Regions from separate parts of the Homo sapiens genome. Here region 1 is linked to region 2. The links are contacts of gene promoters, found by promoter capture Hi-C in blood cells and fetal thymus (Javierre and others, 2016). All regions are on one chromosome and are shown on one strand. Each heading gives the region's core, a stretch centred on a gene start or on the middle of the fragment in contact. The rest is flanking DNA. Distances are from core to core; before and after follow the strand shown. Region 1 has its middle 45 kb from the start of CCDC32. Region 2 holds the start of ZFYVE19 (zinc finger FYVE-type containing 19).

Region 1 (6,916 bases), core at 3,988-6,487, 290 kb after region 2:
CGAAAACACACTCTCTACTAAAAATACAAAAATTAGCCAGGCGTGGTGGCATACTCCTATAATCCCCACTACTCGGGAGGTTGAGGCGGGAGAATCGCTTGAACCCTGGAGACCGAAGTTGCAGTGAGTGAGACTGCGCCACTGCCCTTCAGTCTGGGCAACAAGAGCGAAATAGTTTCAAAAAAAAAAAAAAAAAAGAAAGGAAAACCAGAAACCTGTGGCAGCACCTCTGAGTTATGCTGAGCAACTGTCCGTACTGCAAAGGTAGGGACTGTCCTCCTCAGGCTTTGCTGAGTGACATCTACATGCTTAATGGGCTTTACTCAAGTTACCCAAGTGTTTGAGAATAAACTAGAACCATCTGATATTTAAGCTCCCTGCCCAGTAACATTTAAAAAGCAGATGTACACCTAAATTAAAGGAAAGACGTTCTATGTTCATTGATCAGAAGACTTAACATGGTTAAGATGCCAGTTTTCCCCAAAATGATCTACAGATTCATTGCAATCTACAGCAAAATCACAGCTGGATTTTTTGGTAGAAATTGACAAGCTGATTCTAAAATTCATATAGAAATTCCAGGAATCCAGAATAGCCAAAACAGTCTTGAAAAAGAAGAACAAAGTTGGAGGGCTCACACTTCCTAATTTCAAAACTTCCTATAAAACCGTGGTAATCAAGACAGTGTGGTACTGCCATAAGGATAGACATAAAGCAATAGAATAGAATTGTGAGTCCAGAAGTATACCCTTTCATTTATGATTAATTGATTTTCAACAAGAGTGTCAAGACAATTGAATGGAGAAAAAAATAGTATTTTTAACAAATGGTGTTGGGACAACTGGATATACAACTGCAAAGGAATGAAATTGGACCCCTATCTGACACCCTACATGCCACATATTTCTTTTTTTCTCTTTTTTTAAATAATCTGCATTACTTTGGAGAAACCATATATTTCTTAGAAGAAATATAGGAAGAAAATATAGGAATAATATTTGTGACCTTGGTATGGGCCAAAGCACAAGTGACAAAAGAAAAAAATAGATAAACTGGACTTTATCACAATTATAAATTTTGGTGCTTCAAAGAACACCAATAGGAAGGTGAAAAGACAATTCACAGAATGGCATAAAATATCTGCAAATCAGATATCTGATAAGGGACTGCTGTCTAGAATTTATGAAGAACTTTAACAACTCAATCATAAAATGACAAATAACCCAATTAAACAATGGGCAAAGGATCTGAATAGACATAGCTCCAAAGAAGATACAGAAATGGCCACTAGCCATCATGGAAAGGCAAATCAAAACTACAATGAGATACCACTTAACACTCATTAGGATGGCTATTATCAAAAAGATAGACAATAACAAGAGTCTGCGAGGATGTAGAGAAACTGGAACCCTCATACATTGTTAGTGGGAACGTACAGTGGTGCATCCACTTTGGAAAACAGTCATATGATGCAGCAATTTCACTCCTAGGTATATCCCACACAAAAACGTGTATATGAATATTCATAGCAGCATTATTCATAGTAGCCCAAAGTGGAAATAACCCAAATATCCATCCATTGATGGATGGATAAATAAAATTCCATACAATGGAATATTATTTGGCACTACAAAGGAATGAAGTACTGATACATGCTACAACGTGGATGAACCTTGAAAACGTTATGCCAAGTGAGAAAAGTGTCACAAAAGACACGCGTTGTATAATCCCATCTATATGCAATGTCTAGAATATGCAAATATATAGGGGAAATGAGGAGTGACTGCTAATGGATATAGGGTTTCTTTTTCGGGGGTGATGAAAATACAGTTGACTCTTGAACAACACAGGTTTGAACTGCACTGGTCCACTGATAGACAAAGTTTCTTCTGACTGTGCCACCCCAAGACAGCAAGACCAACCCGTTTTCCTCCTCCTCCTCAGCCTACTCGACGCGAAGATGACAAGGATGAAGATCTTTATGATGATCCACTTCCACTTAATGAATAGTAAACATAGTTTTTTCTTTCTTATGAGTTTCCTGATAGCATTCCTTTTCTCTAGCTTACTTTATTGTAAGAGTATAATACATATAGCAGACAAAATATGCGTTAATCAACTGTTTATGTTATCACTAAGGCTTCAGGTAAACAGAAGGCTATTAGTAGTTAAGCTCTGGGGGAGTCAAAAGTTATACATGGATTTTTAGCTGCAGGGAGGCTGGCACCCCTAACCTCCACGTTGTTCAAGATTCAATTATATTCTAAAATTTATTCTGGTGATGTTGCAGAATTCTGTGAATATACTAAAAAATACTGAATTTTACACTTTAAACAATTTCATGAATTATGAAAAAGATTGTGCAAATGTCCACTTTTATAAACCATTGAAAATTTTCTTAATTGGAAAATGATTTTATAAATAAAGTTGCATTATTGCTTTGTAGACGAAGTACTTTTATTATAAGCCTACAGAGCAGAATGCAAAATGATGCCATTTATGAATTCATGTCAGTAGTTATTTGCTGAAATTATATCAGTATAGTGCATTGATCCTGCTTCAAAGCAGGTGTAGAGAGGATTTCCAATATGATGAACAACGTGTGGACTGGAAAGCAGAAGAAAATATGCATAGAATTGGGTACAAAGTAAATGTATTTTCTTCAACATTGTGTTCTGTTCATATTGTTCTGAAATAAAAGAACAAGTTCTAAACATTAAAACAAATACACAACATCCAAGAAAAACGATACAATAAGCAAAACATGCAGAATACACACACACACACACACACACACACACACACACACACACACACACGCACACACAATCTGGCAGCTGGAGCCACATTCAGAGACAATGGTTGTTGGGGGAAGCCTCCCAGTTTCCTCCAAGGAAAGGACATTCTTGATTTGTCGTCTCCACTCCCCTGTCACCCTGGACTTAGGTGCAAAGATGGGCAGAGCAGCTGTGCACACCAAGTTGTCTCTTCTTTCAGGGGGTGCCCATGTGTGTTGGGGTAAAAGGGAAACTGGGGGAGGGGGCACTCTCACGGGTGTGGCCCAAGAGTGCTCAGCCCAAGGGCAGCCTCAGCGAACAGCACTGCCACCTTGCGGCTTGGGTTGGTCTCAGCTCTGATTAAGGGTCCAGGGACCCACAAGGGGGCTCCTTCATGTTCTTCAGAAGAAAATATTTGGCAATTCAGTAGCCTTCCTTCAAATATCATTTTTATGTTTTTTTCTTAATTTAAAAGTAATTCACATTCACTTTATAACATTTTTAAAGTAGATATAAGGAAAAATAAAATAATAAAAATTATCTGTAAATCCAACCTCCAGAGATAACCAAGATATTAGGCACTTGAGTGTATATTCTTCCAGTCTTTTTTCTGTTTTTTTTCTTTTTTTAACAAAAACAGGATTATACAGTACATACTGTTGTTTCATAAACTAAATATATTGTACGAGTATCTTTCCACTTGTTAAATACATTGTATGAGTATCTTTCACTTGTTGTTCTGCAATACCTTTTATTTTATTTTATTATTTGGAGACATGGTCTTGCTTTATTACCTAGGCTGGAGTGCAGTGGTGCAGTCTCTGGTCACTGCAGCCTTAGCCTTCTGGGCTCAAGCAATCGTCCCACCTCAGCCTCCTGAGTTAGCTGGGATTACAGACATGTACCACCACACCTGGTTAATTTTTGTATTTTTTGTAGAGACGGGGTTTCGCATGTTGCTCAGGCTGGTCTCAAACTCCTGGCCTCAAATGATCCACCCACCTCAGCCTCCCAAAATGCTGGGATTACAGGAATGAGCCACCACACCCGGCCCACAACATAATTTTTGATGGCTGTATTGTATTCCTTTCTTTGGGTGACTGGGCCATAGTTTATTTAACCAACTATTGTTGGAACACTTAAATTATACCCATTTTTTTTTCACTGAAGTAAATAATGCTGGGATGAACTTCCTTGTTGCTGAATCTTTACAGAAATCCACGGTTCTTTTCTTAGTTAAATTCCCAAGACAAAGTGGATATGAAGTTTGTAAGGTGTTTCATATAATACAGTATATTAGTTAAGACTTTCCAGAAAGGCTTAATTAGGAGGCTTTCTACCTTATTTATTTATTTTTAATTTTTTTGAGACGGGGTCTCACTTTGTGCAGTAGCGTGATCATAGCTCACTACAGCTTCAAATTCGTGGGCTCAAGTGATCCTCCTGCCTCAGCCTCCCACAGTGCTGGGAGTTTGAGGCTACAGTGAGCTATGATCGTGGCACTGCACTCCAGCCTGGTTGACAGACTGAGACGCTGTCTCTAAAAAAATTAAGATAAAATAAAATAAAAATTAAGGGCTTTCTCCTCATATGTTAGTGGAGATTAAACCAATAGAGAAAATTATAACGATTTAAAAAATACTATAAGTTCAGAAACATTTTATTCTTTTTCAAAATAATTTTTCTTTTTCTCCTCATGTTACTTTGTTTAAGATAAATTCAGAAACATTTTAAAGTGAGCTTTATTTATTTATTTATTTATTTTTTGAGACCAAGTCTCGCTCTGTTGCCCAGGCTGGAGTGCAATGGTGCAGTCTCGGCTCACTGCAACCTCCGCCTCCTGGGTTCAAGGGATTCTCCTGCCTCAGCCTCCTGAGTAGTGGGATTAATGGCGCCCACCACCATGACTGGCTAATTTTTCTGATTTTAATAGAGACGGGGTTTTACCATGTTGGTCAGGCTGGTATTAAACTCCTGACCTCGTGATCCACCCCGCCTCAGACTCCCAAACTGCTGGGATTACAGGTGTGAGGCCACTGCACTCTGCCGCTTTATTTTTATTAATCACAACTACACCTATATACTTCTCCTATTTTTTTATTTTTACGAATTTTAAAAACAGCAAATTTGAAGGAATAGTATTAACACCCCTCCACTCTCCACCAAGCTTCAACATTTTAGGCATTATACAACTTTGCTCTCTCTCTTTATAAATATATATATATATTTTGAGATGGAGTTTCTCTCTTGTTGCCCAGGCTGGAGTGCAATGGCGCAATCTCGGCTCACCACAACATCCGCCTCCTGGGTTCAAATGATTCTCCTGCCTCAGCCTCCCGAGGAGCTGGGATTTCAGGCATGCGCCACCACGCCCAGCTGATTTTGTATTTTTAGTGGAGACAGGGTTTCTCCATGTTGGTCAGACTGGTCTTGAACTCCCGACCTCAGGTGATCTGCCCACCTCGGCCTCTCAAAGTGCTGGGATTATAGGCATGAGCCACCATGCCCAGCCATGAATACTTTTTTGCTTAACCTTTTGAAAGTAAATTGCAAATGTTATGTCACTTCACCTCTGAATATATTTGCATGTATCTCCTAAAAGAGGGACATTCCCCTACATAACTACAAAATCATTATCATGCCTAAAAAGTTAACAATAATTCTCTAATATCATCTAATATTTAGTTTATATAACATTTTACCCAATTGTCCCTAATTATAGATTTTTAAAAATCAGATTCAATCCAAGCTTATGAATTGTTGTATCCTTTAAGCTGGAAGAGTCGCTTCTTTCTTTTTCTATAACATTGTCTTTTTGAAGACTCCAGGCCAGCTTTCTTACAGAATGTTCCACATTTTGGATTGAGTGAGTGTTTCTTCATGGTGTTGTTTAACTTGTTCCTCTGGCCCTCTCTGTTTTCTGTAAATTGGAAGGTTGGTGCAGAGAACCTGTATAAAATAATTCTACCGGCTGGGTGCGGTGGCTCACACCTGTTATCCCAGCACTTTGGGATGCCGAGGCGGGTGGATCACCTGGGGTCAGGAGTTCCAGACCAGTGTGGCCAACATGGTGAAACCCCGTCTCTACTAAAAATACAAAAAATTAGCCAGGCGTGGTGGCAGGCGCCTGTAATCCTAGCTACTCAGAAGGGGCAGGGGAATTGCTTGAACCTGGGAGGCGGAGGTTGCAGTGAGCCGAGATCGCACCACTGCACTCCAGCCTGGACAACAAGAGTGAAACTCTGTTTCAATTAAAAAAAAAAAAGAATTCTACCATAGTTGGTTGCATTATTGGTTCTGATTTATTCTATCCTTTCCTGTGAGGTGATTATACGTCCTCTCCTTTTGCTATGTGACTTGCGGCACTCCTTTTTAGGAGGAATACACTTCACTGTCCCATTAATGGCGGGCATGGTCACACGACTTGAGGTGGCCAATAAATGTAAGTGGAAATGACTATGCTTTTCCCTGCAGAAGGTTTAAGAACTATGGCAGACTTCTATCACTTTCCTTTTCCCTCTGCCATGAGGATTACATATTTCAAATAGAGGCTACATCTTCTGCCCAGATCCCAGAATGGAGAGGACAACACAGAGCAGAACCACCAATGACCACAGCCGACATAAAATGTGCATAAGAAATAAACCCTTCTTACTGTAAGCCACTAAGAGTTTTGGGTTATTTGTTACTACAGTGTAACTCAGAGAAAGCTAATTAAAATATAAACACATATGTCAGCAATATTATTTCTTTCATCACAGAAGAGCCTTGCTGTATCCATAGAGTTGAGAGCAGGTCTCCTTGTTACACTGTGGGTACACTAGATTCCAGAACCACTACCTACTGTGTCTCTGTATCAGCTCCTGCCTTCAAGCGGCTCAAGAAATGACTTTGGGGACCCAAGCCTGGGGCCAGTCTGTCCAGGATGACTAAAGAGGGAGTTAGATGGAGAAGGCAGGGTCTGGAGCAGTACCTGGCACATGCAGTACTCAAGGATTTGATAGATAAATGAGTAATTTGCTTGCATTCTTGTGCCAGGGTTTTTAAGAGTCAGTCCAAAATAAGGATTATGTTATGAATTTTTCAAAAAGCCTTTTTTCCTTTAAAAGACTTATTGGCCGGGTGGGGTGGCTCACGCC
Region 2 (7,068 bases), core at 2,351-4,850:
TCTGCTGGGCTTGGGTCCTGGTGTCCGGTGTGTGATGTGCCTGCACAGACGAGGAAACCTCAGTGGAGAGCAGGGGTAGCCCAGAAGCAGTCTAGGTCAGGGATGGATGCTAAGTAGTTCTCAAAGCCCAGGGAAAGGAGAGGGATCCAGGGCCCACATAATCAAGTAGGTCTGGCCGTCCCCAACAGGACTGAGGGGCCACTTTTTCCTGCCCTACCCTATCGTGCTGTTTGTCCCTGGTCCCCGGGTCTGGTAGCAGGCCTGAGGATCAGGAGGTAGGGGTGGGAGGCTTTGCCAACTCCTGCAAAGTACATAAAGTACAAAGGTTGGTGCAAAAGTAACTGAGGTTTTTGCAATTAAAAGTAATGACAAAAACCACAATTACTTTTGTATCACCCCAATACCTGTATCTGGGCTTCTGCTGGGTCCTCCCGCTAGCACCCCCGCTTCTCTCCTAAGCCATAACACTCACCGGCTGGGGGGTTTGAGAAGGTAGAACTCTGCCCTGCAACGCTGCAAGTCGTGCCTCCATTTCCTGGGTGGAAGGGATGGAACCCTGACGTTCATCCTTTAGGGCAGCCAGCCGTGCCTCTATCTCTGCCTGTGAGGGGACTAACTCTGCAATTGGCATGGGGGGAGCCTTGTAAGGGCCAGAGGCATCTCAGTCCCAGAAGCCCTGGACTGTGTCCTCTAGGCAACCCCATCTGCCCCTGCTCACTGGGCTTGTTCTCCTGGCGGAGTCGTGCTAGGCGCTCAGCAATCATCTGGTCTTGTCGTGTCAGTCCCTGGCTCTGGGAAGTGCTGGGCTTTTGCTTGGCTTCCAAGGCTGCCACACGCCTGGCAGGATATGAGATAGAGGCTCTTGAAGAAGGCAGAGGGGAAGAGTGAAGGCACCCACTCACTGTTTCCCATTCAAATCAAATCATTTCTGGGCACTTAGGGAGGCCTCCAATGGGCAATCTGCTGTGCCCCTCACTCATGTCACCCTGCAGCCCAACCTGGCTGACCAGCCAGACGGTCCAGCTGAAAGGACAAGCTCTACCAAGTGCCTGTCCTGGAGAGAGGGCTGAAGAGCTGCTTTACCAGCCCAAGAGGGCAGTCAGGAGCCAGAGAGGAGAGAATTCTCCTGATTCTGTGCTCATTTTATCTAGAAGATGGGGGCAGGGTCTTTCCCTATGGCTCCCTTATCCTTTCCCCAATGCTCTTTGTCTTTTTCTCTTCAGCACTTACTTCTTATAGTTCTGAGGTGGTGACCACTTGGAGGCATTGGCAGAAGACCCTCTACAGAGAAGAAATCTAGTGTTATAAATCCTGCCATCCCACCAGGCAGTGCCCCCCACTCCAAACACTTCCTCGGCTGACTCTCGCGACAGAGTACAAAGCTGTGAGGGCTGGCCAGATGCCCACTGCCATACTTGGCTGAACTTTCACCCATGCCTGCCTCTTACCTGGTCAGGACCTCATGGCATTGCTTGCAGACTTTCTGTTGGGTGTTCCCAGTCCGAGGCACTGCTGCACTGAAGCTTAGGCAGCCTGAACAGAAGGCCCTGCCACAATTCTTACAGCCGTACTACAAGAAACATGAAGCGGGAGATCCCCCTCTCACCCGCCCCTGCAGGCTGCTCCCAGGGACTCTCCAAGCACACACAGAGAGAAGTCACTGAAGTTATGACCAGCTGCTGGGAGGAAGAAGAGGAGTGGGGCCCCTAAGGCCTAGGGATGGTGAGTAAAGCAATTCCTCGGTTTCCAGTACCTTATTCAAGCCAAATGAAGGTTTATACAAAATTCCCATGCTTTCTACCCTGTCTTCAATTCCCTGACCCAGGGATGTAGAAGACAGATAGATAAAGCCCAGTATTTCAGGCCACTGACTCTTCCACAAAGGAGAATCAGAGAGACAGGGCAGAGCCGATGCCTCCTCTGCTCTTGCAGAGATGGAGGGAGGCTTGGCTCAGGATGGGCTAACAATAGCCTCCATTTATTAAGCACTTACTATGTGCCAGGCACTAAACCCAGTACTTAACATTCATCATGTGATTTATTCCTTACAATTTACACACATTATTTTACTTAATCTTGATGCCAACCGTGATTATCCTTATTTTGAGAGGGCCAGAGAGGTTACATAACTTATCCAAACCAAGGTCACCGCCTCAATAAGACAGCAGAGCTCAGATTTGAACGCTGACTCCAAAATCCAGGTTGGTGAATGCTGCACGGTCCTGCCTTCCTGCGTGACACTAATTTACTCCATCTAGTTCCCATCATCTCCTGGTCAGAATCCCTGGCCACAACTGAGGCAGAGGGAACCTGCAGTTTACCAGAGGAATCTGGCAGGTCTGTGATAGGGACAGGACAGTCAGCCTTCACCATGGTGCCCCGGAAGCAGGAGGAAGTGTGGTAATCTAACTCCAGCGACCTGGAGAAGGGCAGGCTGCGGGATGGGGAAGATTTCAGAGCAGAGGGAGTAACGGGCTTGGTGTGATGGACACCGCGCTTCGGAGGAGCAGGGTGGAGAGAAGAAAACCGCCAGATGCTACACTGGGCCGACAGAAAAGAGTAGCTTTGCAAAAACGACGGCAGCGCGCTTTACAGTTTATAGGGAACTCTCACCTAAAGCACTTCAGTGGACCCTCACATAAACCCTGAAAGCGAGAGAATGTTAGCCCCATTTTACAGAAATGGAAACTGAGGATCAATGACTTCATCAAAACCACACAGCTGGAAAGGAGCCGTAAGACCAAGTCTTTGGACGTTAAGTCCCGCGCTTTTCCCTCCTCTCCTCCCTGGCCCTGCAGCCCTCGGGGAGGGAAGACTCGCCTCCTTCTTGAAGAGGGTGAACTTGACAGCGCAGCCGTAGCACCTACTCTCCATGGTGGCTCCCAGCACCGCAGGGTCTGCAGAGCTGAGATCACGCCGGCCAAGTCCTGGGCCCCTTGGACCCTCACCCCAGCTCCGCCCTTCCCTTCCCTGCCCTGCCCCGCCCCACACGCCCACTGGCACTGTCCCGCCGCGACCTAGAGCAGGGAATCCGGACGCTCTCCTGCAGCCAGCGTACGGCAGCGGCGGCAACGGGGGCTGCTGGGAGTCGTAGTTCATTCACGACTGCCGGCCTCCCTCAGAGTCAGTCAAGCCTGACCCAGAACACAATTCCCAGAGGGCTAGGCGCCGCTCGGAGCCTGCAGTCCTCACGCGCGCTTAGACTCTTGGGAGTTGTAGTACGAATCCGTCAGGCCGGAACCATGGCAGTGACCAAGGAGCTCTTACAGATGGACCTGTACGCGCTGCTAGGCATTGAGGAGAAGGCAGCGGACAAAGAGGTGAGAACGGTGGCGAGGAAGGCTGATCTTGAGAGGTCTGGCGGTCCTTCCTGTCCTAGCGCCTCGGCCACTGCTGGCATCCGCTCTCCAGGTTCATTCGGGTCCTGGGCGGGGAGCGAGGGTCGGCGCTATGCCCTCCGCAGGCGGGCTCCCAGACATTTCCTGGACGGTCCGAGGGCCTCAAGAGGAAGCGGGGTACAGAGGGCTCTTCGCGCCGGGTGGCTGTGCTCTCCCCGTGGCCCCTGTCTCCTAGAGGCCGCGGGGCGAGGCAGCAAGGAACGCTAGCCTCCTCTGCGCCTGCGCAGTCTCGGCCTCCGTTTCCGCTTCTGCCTTGACTGTGACAAGAGGTGCCTCATTTCAGTCTCTTCTGCAGGCTGATTTAATTCTTCCACTAAGAGCCTAGAACGAAAGAAAAGTAAGATCTCAAAGCCTCTCCACTCCCTTTTCATGCCCCCTTGCCAATGTGACCGATGACCCTGCTGTCTCTATTTTCTTTTCCACTCAAGCCCATTGACTCTTTTCAAGTAGCTGATGCCCTTCTCAGCATGTGCTAGTTAGTGGGCTAAAAGCAGGAGGATCAGAAGGTTAAGGCAGATGGTATAGAGGTCCATGCTACCTTAGGTGGTGATAAAGATGCCAGGGAGTGAAACACTGATCAAGCTGGATTTAGGATTTCTTTTATCTCCCCCTGGATCATGGTGGTAGTTTTAACAATATACGAAGGAGAGGCGTTCATCAAATGAAAATTAGTGCCCAACTGAGCCGAGATCGCGCCACTGCACTCCATCCTGGGCGACAGAGCAAGACTCTTTCTCAAAAAAAGAAAGAAAGAAAGAAAATTAGTGTCTACTAGGCCGGGCGCGGTGGCTCACGCCTGTAATCTCAGCACTTTGGGAGGCCGAGGCGGGCGGATCATGTGGTCAGAAGTTCGAGACCAGCCTGACCAATATGCTGAAACCCCTTCTCTACTAAAAATACAAAAATTAGCCGGGCGTGGTGGCACACACCTGTAGTCCCAGCTACTTGGGAGGCTGAGGCAGGAGAATCACTGGAACCCGGGAGGCGGAGGTTGCAGTGAGCTGAGATTGCACCACTGCACTCCAGTCTGGGCGACAGAGCGAGACTGTCTCAAAAAAAAAAAAAAAAAAGGAAAAAAAAATAGTGCCCACTAATGTCCCAGTACTTCTGGGCTGCCCTGCTCATGGGGTGAGTGAGCTTTTGAGAAGAGGAAGCTCTGGGGCAGAAAATCAGAGAGACCCAGAGGGCCCTTGAGAAATGCTGTCAACCTGCACAAATCTGTCCCCTGCAGCCGCAGCTGAAATCAGAAATGGCCATGGGATGTCTATGAAGCATCAAAAGCATCTGCTCCACCTCTCTCGTGTTTCAATATTTTAGGATTAATAATTCCTAACATCTGTATAATGCTTACTATGTCCTAGACAGTATTTTTTTTTTCTGGATAGTATTCTAAGTGCTCTATGTTTACAAATTATTATTTTTTAAATTCTTTATTATTATTATTTTTTATTATTGTTTTTGAGACGGAGTCTCGCTCTGTGGCCCAGGCTGGAGTGCAGTGGCGCGATCTCGGCTTACTGCAACCTCCGCCTCTCGGGTTCACGCCATTCTCCTGCCTGAGCCTCTCCAAGTAGCTGGGACTACAGGCGCCTGCCACCATGCCCGGCTAATAATTTTTATTTTTAGTAGAGACGGGGTTTCACCGTGGTCTCGATCTCCTGACCTCGTGATCTGCCCACCTCAGCCTCCCAAAGTGCTGGGATTACAAGCGTGAGCCACCGTGCCCGGCCTATTATTATTTTTTGAGACGGAGTCTCGCTCTGTCGCCCAGGCTGGAGTGCAGTGGCGCAATCTCAGCTTACTGCAACTTCTGCCTCCCAGGTTCAAGCGATTCTCCTGCCTCAGCCTCCGGAGTAGCTGGGACTACAGGCATGTACCACCACGCCCGGCTAATTTTTTTTTTTTTTTTTTTTTTGAGACAGAGTATCACTCTTTGGCCCAGGCTGGAGTGCAGTGGCATGATCTCGGCTCACTGCAACCTCCGCCTTCCTGTTTCAAGTGATTCTCCTGCCTCAGCCTCCCAAGTAGCTGGGATTACAGGCACCCGCCACCACGCCCAGCTAATTTTTGTATTTTTAGTAGAGACGGGGTCTCACCGTGTTGGCCAGGCCAGTCTTGGATTCCTGACCTCGTGATCTTCCCACCTCGGCCTCCCAAAGTGCTGGGATTACAGGTGTGAGCCACTATGCCCTGCCTGCAAATTATTTAATTAGTACTTTATTAATAGTGAGAAACTATTTGAGACATTTCACAAAAGATCCAAGTGGGAAATCTGGAGGGTTTTTTTTTGAGACGGAGTCTCACTCTCTTGCCTAGGCTGGAGTGCAGTGGTGCAACCTTGGCTCACTGCAACCTCTGCCCCCCAGGTTCAGGGAATTCTCCTGCCTCAGCCTCCTGAGCAGCTGGGATTACAGGCATGTGCCACCACACCCAGCTAATTTTTGTGTTTTTATCAGAGACAGGGTTTCACCATGTTGGTCAGGCTGGTCTTGAACTCCTGACCTCAAGTGATCTGCCGGCCTTGGCCTCCCAAAGTGCTGGGATTACAGGCGTGAGCCACCGCGCCCGGCTGAAATCTAGAGTTTCTAACCCTGAAGTTGAGAACTCCTGAGGAAGTCAGTTGGAAGTCATTCTCTATTAATTAGAGAAGTTACATAATCAGATTTTATTTTTTTTTTATTTTTATGTCTATTTTTTGAGAAAAGATCTCACTGTCATTCAGGCTGGAATGCAGTGGCACAATCACAGCTCACTGCAGCCTCGACTTCCTGGGCTCAAGTGATCCCACCTCAGCCTCTCATGTAGTTGGGACTGCAGGTGTGCATCATCATGCCTGGCTAATTTGTTTTGTGTTTGTTTTTGCTTTTTTTTTTTTTCCAGAGACGGGGTCCAGCTATATTGCCCAGGCTGGTGTCGAACTCCTGGGTTCAAGCTATCCTCCTGCCTGGTCTCCCAGAGTGCTGGGATTGCAGGCATGAGCCACTGTGCCCTGCCCATAATTGGATTTTAAAGAAAGTATTTGACTGAGTGTGATGGCTCACACCTGCAATCCCAGCACTTTGGGAGGCCAAGGTGGAAGGAACGCTTGAGGCCAGGAGTTTGAGACCAGCCTGGGAAACGTAGTGAGAGCCTGTCTCTCTCTCTATATATAAAAAAAAAAGCTGGGCAGGGTGTTACGCACCTGTAGTCCCCGCTACATGGGAGGCTGAGGTGGGAGGATCACTTGAGCCTGGGAAGTTTCAGTGAGCTATGATTTTGCCACTGTATTCCAGCCTGGATGACAGGGTGAGACCCTGCCACTCTTAAAAAAGAAAAGAAAATTCAACACTAGTGTGCATAATGAAAATGGGTGGGGGTGGGAGGAATGGAAGAGCTGCCACTAGGGGGTCAGATGGGGCTGGTGTCTAGGCAAGAGACCAAGGTCTGAGCTGGGCAGTGGTGGCTGGGATCCAGTTCTAACTCAGATGAGATAAGGGATAGGTGTGAAGCCACTCTATAAAGGGTAACAGGTGCTGCTCCTGCCTTTAATGGGGGGGCAAGATTCACGCATACAAGGGAGACATGGTGAGTTCCTTAAGAGGGGTACAAAGTGCTGTGGATGTTCAGTGTAGGCTGAGATTGCTATTAGTTTGAGAGAAGGAATAAAGGCAGGAGAGAAGGTATTTGGGGC

The links. The method cuts DNA at HindIII sites, captures the fragments that hold promoters and counts their contacts. A CHiCAGO score of 5 or more calls a contact.
Region 1: a fragment that was not itself captured here is called in contact with the fragment with the promoter of ZFYVE19 in region 2 in 2 of 17 cell types (naive B cells and total B cells); the score reaches 6.0 in naive B cells.

Annotation. Positions count from the first base shown.
Region 1 is chr15:40,516,110-40,523,025 of GRCh38, reverse strand. It overlaps a transcript of CCDC32 not described here. Among named protein-coding and RNA genes, the nearest start is that of CCDC32, 45 kb to the left of the region's middle. RefSeq lists enhancers at 2,778-2,887, 2,942-3,236. The HindIII fragment of the contact is 582 bases long and covers 4,947-5,528 here.
Region 2 is chr15:40,803,621-40,810,688 of GRCh38, reverse strand. ZFYVE19 (zinc finger FYVE-type containing 19) reads right to left here and starts at 3,600. Exons shown (of 11, transcript NM_001077268.2): 1 at 2,821-3,600; 2 at 1,449-1,570; 3 at 1,231-1,281; 4 at 719-837; 5 at 473-618; 6 at 1-40. The coding sequence starts at 3,099. It overlaps DNAJC17 (DnaJ heat shock protein family (Hsp40) member C17), which reads left to right and starts at 3,216. Exons shown (of 11, transcript NM_018163.3): 1 at 3,216-3,320. The coding sequence starts at 3,243. RefSeq lists enhancers at 2,568-2,617, 3,248-3,297, 3,338-3,387, 3,848-3,937. The HindIII fragment of the contact is 13,093 bases long and covers 1,526-7,068 here.